2 separate regions of the Homo sapiens genome follow, and region 1 is linked to region 2. The links are contacts of gene promoters, found by promoter capture Hi-C in blood cells and fetal thymus (Javierre and others, 2016). All regions are on one chromosome and are shown on one strand. Each heading gives the region's core, a stretch centred on a gene start or on the middle of the fragment in contact. The rest is flanking DNA. Distances are from core to core; before and after follow the strand shown. Region 1 has its middle 42 kb from the start of MAT2B. Region 2 holds the start of WWC1 (WW and C2 domain containing 1).

What was found. The method cuts DNA at HindIII sites, captures the fragments that hold promoters and counts their contacts. A CHiCAGO score of 5 or more calls a contact.
Region 1: a fragment that was not itself captured here is called in contact with the fragment with the promoter of WWC1 in region 2 in 1 of 17 cell types (activated CD4 T cells); the score reaches 6.3 in activated CD4 T cells.

Annotation. Positions count from the first base shown.
Region 1 is chr5:163,545,371-163,549,953 of GRCh38, forward strand. No RefSeq gene overlaps it. Among named protein-coding and RNA genes, the nearest start is that of MAT2B, 42 kb to the left of the region's middle. The HindIII fragment of the contact is 3,119 bases long and covers 1,184-4,302 here.
Region 2 is chr5:168,289,337-168,294,246 of GRCh38, forward strand. WWC1 (WW and C2 domain containing 1) reads left to right here and starts at 2,309. Exons shown (of 23, transcript NM_015238.3): 1 at 2,309-2,935. The coding sequence starts at 2,817. RefSeq lists an enhancer at 858-937 and silencers at 2,082-2,601, 2,702-3,121. The HindIII fragment of the contact is 16,463 bases long and covers 1-4,910 here.

The sequences.
Region 1 (4,583 bases), core at 1,493-3,992, 4.7 Mb before region 2:
GAAGTTAGGGGATGCCATGACATCAAATGAGACAAAACACCTTGTAAAAGGCAACATACGGCCAGTTGTGGTGGCTCACGCCTGTAATTCCAGCACTTTGGGAGGCTGAGGCAGGCGGATCATTTGAGGTCCAGAGTTCGAGACCAGCCTGGCCAACATGGTGAAACCCTGTCTCTATTAAAAATACAAAAATTAGCGGGGCATGGTGGTGTGTGCCTGTAATCCCAGCTACTCAGGAAGCTGAGACAGAAGAATCGCTTAAACTTTAGCGTGCACTGGAATCACCTGGAACTTGTTAAAACCCATCTGGCTGGCCTCTTCCTCAGAGTTCCTCATGCAATAGGTCCAAGGGAGGCCTGAGAATTTGCATTTTTGACAAGGTGACTTTCTTAATTATGCTGGTTGTGGACCACATGTTGAAAACTACTGCTTCCCCGGATAATAAACAACTCTTCCCCTGGTAATAAAATATAAGCTTCCTTACTTGAAAAGTTCATATCCTCCAGCTGAAATTCCTACTCCTGGTGACCAATGTAGGAAGAGTCATATTCTAGGTTTAGAGCTGAGTGAGGCAGTAGAAAATATGCACCTGTGACCTTGGATGCATTTGTATAAAAAAACACTGTGCTAAGCACAATTTCTTTCTTTCCATGTGTTTGAAAAAATATTTAAAGCCTTCCAACTATCCCAGGAGTTTATGATCAAGCTGCTGAGACCAAATAGACCCTATAAAACACTTTGTGAATAATTACTGAGCAAAATAAACTATAAATGCAAAACAGCATTGCCTAAAGTTCCCAGGTGAGAACGCAGTCACATTCCTAAAAGCAGAAATCGGGATTTAAATTCCAAATGCTCAGAAAATCTACTTTATCACTTCTTTTTTTTTTTTTTTTTACAGCCAGCTAGAGGCAAACCTCCTGACTTCAGTTCAACCAGAGATGGGGTGAAGCTTAGACCTCAGTGTCTGCACTGTGTAATTAGATAAAGTTTGAAAATTGTATTCTCAGGGTGTGATCTGTGAACCATCTGCAGCAGAATTGCCTTAGAAACCTATTCAATGAGCATATTAAAAATGGTCTACTGAAATAGAAACTTGGGAGCAAGGTCTTGGAAACTTCTCATTCAGCCAGCTCTGCAGATAAATCTTATGTTTGTTTAGTTTGAGAGGACATGCTCCAGAAGCTTCTCCCCAACCCCACCCAGCACATCAAAGTTTGAGATGATCACACTGTCCTTGAGGTAACCCTGTGTATCATGCATTAATAAGTGGCAGCTGTCCAGAGATGTTTAATTTTCAGTTTGAGCCTCAGTTTCTGGGTAGCTCCAAGGTCCTAACAGGGACTTTATCCTGCCTGTGATAGGAGCCTTCCTTTTGCACCTGAGAGGAGCACAGAGCTCCATGCTGGACAGATGGGAGCCAGGGAAGAAAGACTCTGCTACGTGCAAAAGAGGAGAGGAATCCAAAGGGAGAGAAAATGATCAGGGTCTGAGGATGAACAGCCAGGCTGCTTTTGGTTGGTTCCTAGGGAGCTTGACAGTCTAGGTTAAGAGGTAAACTTGCTTTTTGTTCTGTGTGTGTGACACAGAGTCTCGCTCTGTCGCCCAGGCTGGAGTGCAGTGGCGCTATCTCCGCTCGCTGCAACCTCTACTTTCACCTCCCGGGTTCAGGTGATTCTCCTGCTTCAGCCTCCCTAGTAACTGGGATTACAGTCGCCCGCCACCATACCTGGCTAATTTTTGTATTTTTAGTAGACCCAGGGTTTCACCATGTTGACCAGGTTGGTCTTGAACTCCTGACCTCAGGTGATCCACCCACCTCGGCCTCCCAAAGTGCTGGGATTACAGGCATGAGCCACTGCACCCGGCCTGAATTGATCTTTCTTTTTCTTGTTATTGTTGTTTTTAGATGGAGTCTTGCTCTGTTGCCCAGGCTGGAGTGCAGTGGTGTGATCTCCGCTCACTGCAACCTCTGCTTCCTGGGTTCAAGTAATTCTCTTGCCTCAGCCTCTGGAGTAGCTGGGATTACAGGAATGCGCTATCACACCCAGCTAATTTTTTTAGTTTTAGTAGAGATGGGGTTTCACCATGTTGGTCAGGCTGGTCTTGAACTCCTGACCTCAAGTGACCCGCCTGCCTCGGCCTCCCAAAGTGGTGGGATTATAAGTGTGAGCCACTGTGCCCAGATGTTTTTTTGTTTGCTTGTTGGTTTTTTGTTTGTTGGTTTTTTTTCTTTTGATGGAGTCTCGCTCTGTCGCCAGGCTGGAGTGTGGTGGTGTGGTCTTGGCTCACTGCAATCTCCGCCTCCCAGGTTCAAGCAATTCTCCTGCCTCAGCCTCCCAAGTAGCTGGGACTACAGGTGTGCGCCACCACACCCAGTTAATTTTTGTATTTTTAGTAGAGGCAGAGTTTCACCTTGTTGGCCAGGATGGTCTTGATCTCTTGACCTCGTGATCTGCCTGCCTCAGCCTCCCAAAGTGTTGGGATTACAGGCGTGAGCCACTGTGCCCGGCCAGACTTGTTTTTTTAAAGAATCTGTTTTCTAAAAATAATTAGTCTTAAATTTACTCTTACTCTCTCTAAAGGGTAGGTGACATAAATATGGGCAGTAAATGTAGTCCTGTGGCCCAATTGTGAGCTTTGGGGTGGGGCAGTCTTTTTTCTAGAACTTCATTGAGCTCCTTTCTAGTTATGAAATTAATACATATCTAATGCAGACACCTCTAAAATCACCGCTGAGTGCAAAGATATGTAATCACACCAAATTAATCCGATGATAGTTACTGAGTGTATATCAGTGTGGGATTTCAGATTATTAAATAAACAGAACCAAACTCCGCATTTTCTACCTGCCATGTTCACCTAATATACAGTCACTATTTTTCTACCTTAAACTATATTCTGTGATCTGATTTTTTAAAATGACTGAATAGCTTCTTATTGTATCGATGTTGCGGTTTATATCTGTGGTCATTGATGATAGAATGTAGTAGTATCCTTTGATGGTTTCCAACAAGATTTCTTTATCTTATACCAGATGGCATTTCCTAGCTCTTGCCTGACAATTAAGGGATAATGTTCTGATTATAGTAGTTGTTACATTTTCCTCCCTCCAGACCAATTAAGTTCTCATTTCATATTTAGGGGCTCGCTGAAAGCAAATGCAGCAATCCCCAACCCCTTGTATTCTATTCATTAATTCTTGTCTTTGGCAAATATTGAAGAACTGGAGGTGATTGAGACACAAACCTTGTCTTCCATGGGTTTTATTCTGATGGAGCCCATGGGCAATATACAAATAAAAATAAATATATAATACAATAGCAAGTGGAGATAAGAATCAGTTAAATAGGTCTAGACCTATTACTATTAACTGGAAGGATATTCGTTATATTACAAACGTTATAACTGTCAGCAAAATCTGGGTCACAGGCTGAGGTCACGCATGGTAGACCAAGGGGAGGAGCTTGAGGGCCCCTCTTCACCTTCAATACCTGCACGCATCTCCATCAGTCACTGATGGTCTTTCTGGTTTCCTCTTTTATCTACCACATGAAAAGACTATCTGATTATAATTTGATGCCTGATAATTTCTAAGTTAGGTGGAGAACATCAGGCTTCCTTTCTAAAGGAGTCATTTTGTTTACAATGGCACTGCCTTTGCCTTGGTGCTGATCGTTTTTGTGGTTTTTCTTTTGTTGTAATCTTATCCTTTCCTTTCCTTTTTTTTTTTTTTTAATCGATGAAGGGTTTATATCGGGACGGGCAGTGTTGAGTATTTAGTTTCTTTTTTCAAATTGAGCACAATGATATTTATTACGCATTTCTGGTTTCAAGCTAATCAATAAAGGAGGCCAGCAAAAGCCCGCCCTTCCGGAGGCTCGGGCTCACTGAATGTGTGTGGCAAAAGCTGGAATTTTATCTCTTAAGAAAAACGGATGGATCCCACTGCTATCTGACTGCTCTGTCAGACAACAGATGAAGAGAAACCCCTCCAAAAAGTTGTTATGGTTTCTCACTGGACTTTCAGATGTCTGTTCACAGATGAGCTTCTAATTAACCAGAAATCTGTCTCCCACGAGGTCAATAAAAATCTGACACCTTTTCAGAAGTACATTTTGGAGTGACTTTCTGGTCATTTTAGAGAGCATTAAAACATAAAAGCATTTCGCTTTCCAATGGAAGTTCTTTTCTATTAGTACCAAAGATGAAATCTCCATGATCCTTTATATGTTTCTAAGCAGCATAGCTAAACATCTCAAAGAATTTTCTCATTATTTTTCTGTAATTCAAACCTATGCAAGCTTAAAGGGAACAATAATGATACCTAGGATTGGCTTGTGTAGACCCAGATGGCTTTTGCATATTTTCATTACACATTTATTTAGTAATCAGAAGAAGTTATTTTGATTCTTATATAACCAGTTCCTCAGCCAGAGTAAAGTCAGAATAAAGTGAACTATCAGGCGTTATGAATATACCCATATTAGAGGAAAATATCCTTTCAGCCCTATCTTTATGGAAAAGGACTTAGGAAGTGCAAGTTCAAAACTTGGTAAGTCTGACCACTGTAGAATTTATTT
Region 2 (4,910 bases), core at 1,059-3,558:
AACCATGGGGAAGTTCTGAGGCTGCAGAGTGATTTAAAAAAGAAAGAAAGTCTCCAATCTGGGTGACAGAGCGAGACTCCGTCTCAAAAATAAAAAGAAAGAAAGAAAGAAAGTCAGCCAGGCAAGGTGGCTCATGTCTGTAAGCCCAGCACTTTGGGAGGCTGAGGTGGGCGGATCACCTGAGGTCAGGAGTTCGAGACCAGCCTGGCCAATATGGTGAAACTCCAGCTCTACTGAAAAATACAAAAATTAGCTGGGCGTGGTGGCGCAGGCCTGTAATCCCAGCTACTCTGGAAGCTGAGGCAGGAGAATTGCTTGAATCTGGGAGGCAGAGGTTGTAGTGAGCCGAGATCATGCCACTGCACTCCAGCCTGGGGGATGGGGGGAGACTCCATCTCAAAAAAAGAAAAAAAGAAAGTATAGGTTAATAACTGAGAACACTGCACTAGAGTCAGACCTAGTCTGTCTTATGAGCTCTGTATCCCAGGCCAACAACAAAGCATCTTGGAGCCTCATCTGTAAAATGGGTATAATAAATAGACTTTCCTATGCCAGAGGGTTGTTATGAAGATTGAGATCATGTATTCAAAGAACCTAGCACCAGGTTGGCTTTGCTTTGGGGCTACTGCTCTAATCAATAGTGGGTTTTTATGTAGTAAAGGCTTGACCCAAACAGAGGAAGTGTAGAGGGCTGTGGGAATTCCCCCATAAAGGAATGGGGAATTCCAACTTTTGGGTGTTGAGGGCCAGTCTGAGGCTGGTGTCCCTGGACTCTGGTGCCTGGTATTTATGGAATGAAGGAGGGCCAAGCACTGAGCCCCGAGGCCTGGCCTCAGGGAAGGAATTAACTATGAAGAAGGCATTTGGAGGCGAGGCTCACTCTGGTGGGTCTTTTCTGTCAAGAGGAGATGAGACCACAAACATGATTCCCTCTCTGGCTCAGCAACACCCTGGTCCATACAGCACAGGGTGCTGGTTCTTCTGGAAGACCGTGGGGCTCAGGCAAGAGAAGACACCCAACTGGGCTTCATTCGACCAGTCCAGCTTCCTGCCATATGCCGAGGGCAAAAAAGGGTTAAATTCCCACTCAGTACACAGATGTAAGAGGAGATGGGGAAGTGAACAGCCAGTTGATCATTCACTCAATCATGCTAGCTTGCTTTTTGTATTTAATGCTACATTTTAAATTTATTTATTTATTTATTTGAGACAGAGTCTCGCTTTGTTGCCCAGGCTGGAGTGCAGTGGTGCGATCTTGGCTCACTGCAACCTCCACCTCCCAGGTTGAAGTGATTCTCATGCCTCAGCCTCCCGAGTAGCTGGGACTACGGGCGTGCACCACCACGCCCAGCTAATTTATTATTATTATTTTTTAGTAGAGATGGGGTTCACTATGTTGGCCAGGCTGGTCTGAAATCCTGACCTCAGGTAATCTGTCTGCCTCACCCTCCCAAAGTGCTGGGATTACAGGCGTGAGCCACCGCACCCACTAATTCTACATTTTTAATTTCTCAAGAAACATTGTGTCTCTGATTGTTTTATTCTCTTGAACATTTTTCAAGATGGAATTTTGCTTTGCTTACTTTCTTCTTTTTCATAGCCCCACTTCTCCCAAATCCATAACACACCTACCTCAAAGTATCACAGGAAAGAAAGCCTGTGAAGCTGCTAGCCACAGCCTGTCACAAGTAAGTCCTCAATTTAGCTAACAATAACAATGGCATTACTATTACTTTTACAAAGTGTTTTCCCTGACACCCTCTGGAAGTCCTCCCAGGAAAGCGGATCCACAGCGCTCCTAATTTTAGGGACCCTGAGGGGAGCCAGCTACATTTCCAAATGGTGGGGAAGGGTGGAGGGTGGGCGAAACGTCGTAGGGAGAGTTGAATAGAAGGAGACAGATGGTGCCTGTGTTGGGGGAAGGGACCAGAGATCCTGGAAAACTTATGTTTCCCAATTCGCAAGAATGTTTCCATTTAACCACTTCTTGCCTGACTCCTGATTCTACACCACAGAAAAGCAGGGAGTTTTTAAGATTTGGGGCCACCTGTGCCGAGAGCCTGGCTACTCCGGGTGGAGAGAGACAGGAGCGTTTTAAGTACAGGCAGAGCGGTTTTTGGCCCAGCCCCCTAGGTCTGGGACGCAGGTGAGGGGCGGTCTCTCCTTCCCCTGGCAGGGGCAGCGTAAGGGTGGCCGGCGGCTGGGACTGTCCCACGAGGGGGCGCGTCTCGGGCCCTAGGACCCGCCCTCGAGGCGCTGCGCGCGGGGAGGGGACCCGGGAACCCAGGCGCCCGGCGCTCCGCCTCCCGTTTCCGGGGCAGCGCGGTTACCTGCACCGCCCGAGCCGCACCTGGCGGAGGCAGAAGTCACAAACCCGGCGAGCTCAGAGCGGTGGAGCGGAGAGGAGGGACGGCACCCGGCTGCAGGGAGGAGGGAGGCGGCAGCGGCAGCGGCGGCGTGGAGGGCGCAGCGCGCCGCGCGGCGGAGGAGGGCAGACGGCGGCGGCGGCGGCGCTCGGCTCGCTCTGCCCGGCCGGCTGGGCGCGCACCCGGGCTCGCACCGCGCCGCTGCGGACGCACATGGCAGCGTGAGAGGCCGGCGGCGGGAGGAGCGGGCGGCGCCGGGTCGGGGCTGCAGGGCCGCATGGACAGCGGCGCCACCCCGGCCGGCCCCTACTAGGGCCCCCCATCTGCGGGCGCCACCCCCCGGATCATGGTGCCTCGGCGGCCGCCCGGGCTAAGAGCGGCCGGCTGGAGCCGCTGAGCCCCCGCTGCGGCCGGGAGCTGCATGGGGGAGCGCCGGCAGCGCTTGGGAAGATGCCCCGGCCGGAGCTGCCCCTGCCGGAGGGCTGGGAGGAGGCGCGCGACTTCGACGGCAAGGTCTACTACATAGACCACACGAACCGCACCACCAGCTGGATCGACCCGCGGGACAGGTAGGACCCTGGAACCCTCCTCCGTGCCCCCACACCCCCGCCTGGGCCCCCACCTGCCCCTGGAGCCGCCGGCCGGGACTGGGAGGGGGCAGGGGAGCTCTGCGTGCCTCTTGAGCTCTCTTCAGTTCGCCACCCCCTGCTCCCCCCAACCTTCTGGAGCGCTGCTCCCGCCTCAGTGGGCCACCGAGAGGAGGCGCCTGCCGGGGAGCTGGCCCAGGCTGCCCCACCGCCATCCCCAGTTGGAGGACTTAGGCCCCAGCCGGCACCTGCCCGGAGTTTTGACCTTAAGCTCTAGCCCCGCCCGCCCCCTTTAGGAAGAGAGGTCGGGCGGGGGCGGGGGTTGGGGGAGCGACCTAGCCGGGTGAAGCCGGGTCTTCCCGGGGAGGCTTCCACCCAGCGTGGGGGGTGGGCGGATGGGGATGGGGAAGTGTCCGGTTAGAGGGGGTGGTCAAGACCCCAGGATTCCGTGGGAGACCACTGGAGAGAGGGCACTCGGCGCAGAGGAAGGCAACCTGAGGTGTGCTTTTTGACAGGTGCCTTGGAAGCTGCTGAGAACAGCACAGGGGCAGCCAGGGGGCCCTGGAACCCGAGGGTGGGGAGGAAGTGAAGAAGCGGGGGAGGGCAGATGAGGGAGACTGGTTATCCAGGAATCTGGCAGCAACTTGGAAGCTGTTAGGATGGAGATGGAGGTGAGAGGCCTCCCGGAAAGCCTTGCCCCTCGCCTCTTTCTCCTCTCTTTCTTCCCTGATCGGGGAAGGGGGCGGCGAGGCTCCTCAGCCCTGCACCAGCGGGACCTGACCTTGGTGGGTACCAGGCCGCTGTAGGTTGAGATAATGTGCAGAGGCAGATGGAGCCTGAGATAGCTCGGTGTGGCTCTTACCTCTCCAGACTTTCTCCTGGTTGTTTGGCATTTCTTTGCTCACATGCTGCACACACACACATACATTCACCCTCTCCATGTATGTCCTAGAGTCCCCGGACCACGATGTTGTTGACACGGTCTGTGGGCAGAGTGTCTTGGGGAATGCGGACTTTAAACCTTGTCTGTGACCTTGGGGGTCAGGTCCCTGTAAAGCAACCAAGGTGAATTTCTTGGACTCTTCATCTTGTGTGGTGGGGGTGGAGGTGTCCCAGAAGTGTATGTAGCAAGATGTGGGTCAAAAAAAGAATATAAGCGGAAAGAAAATGAGAGTTGAGATTCTCGGTAGTTTCTGGGAGCACTTACTTTCATTCATTCATTCATTCGTTCATTCAGCGCTTCCTGGATGCCTCCTCTACACTCAGCACCATGCTGAATGTCTCATGAATGTAATCTGGAAGGTAAATATTTAGTGCTAGAGAGCATCTCTTAGGCAAGCTGCTTCAACCTCTGAGCCTCAGTTTCCCTGTTTGTCAGATGGGGGAGCCCACCATTTCCCTGAATTTAAAAAGTTTGCTTGGAAGGGAATATTGGGATGCTTAAAACTTGGAAGGGACGTACATCAGCGCCCAACTCCCATTTGAAACATAAGAGAAAATTTGAAGCCCAGAGGTGTGATTTGCTCAAGTATTTTGATTTTTCTGCCATTCTGCGTACCAGTTCTTCACCAGCTCTGAAGTTCTAACCTGCAAACTTGTCACCCTGACACACTGCTTCCCCACCCTTACTCGGGTCAGTTGCCAGCTCTGCTACTGTGTTGGTGAACTTGGCAGCACCTTTTCTCTTGTCCTTTTCTCAGAACAGACACAAGTTCAAACATATGTGACCTGCCCCAATTTAGGTCCCTGTAGTTTACGGAGGCCTGTGTGCTGTTAGCAGGTGGACGTCCTGTTGGAGGGAAAGGACCGCCCCTGCCAACACTGATAATCATGCATCTGGGGACTTCTAATACAGCAATAGGAGGCCCCTCTCAACAGTAATTCTTTACCCTTGGAAAAGGGTAAGTAAGTAGCTTCTATGAAGAACTGATTGGCTGGAGCACAATCTCCCAAATTT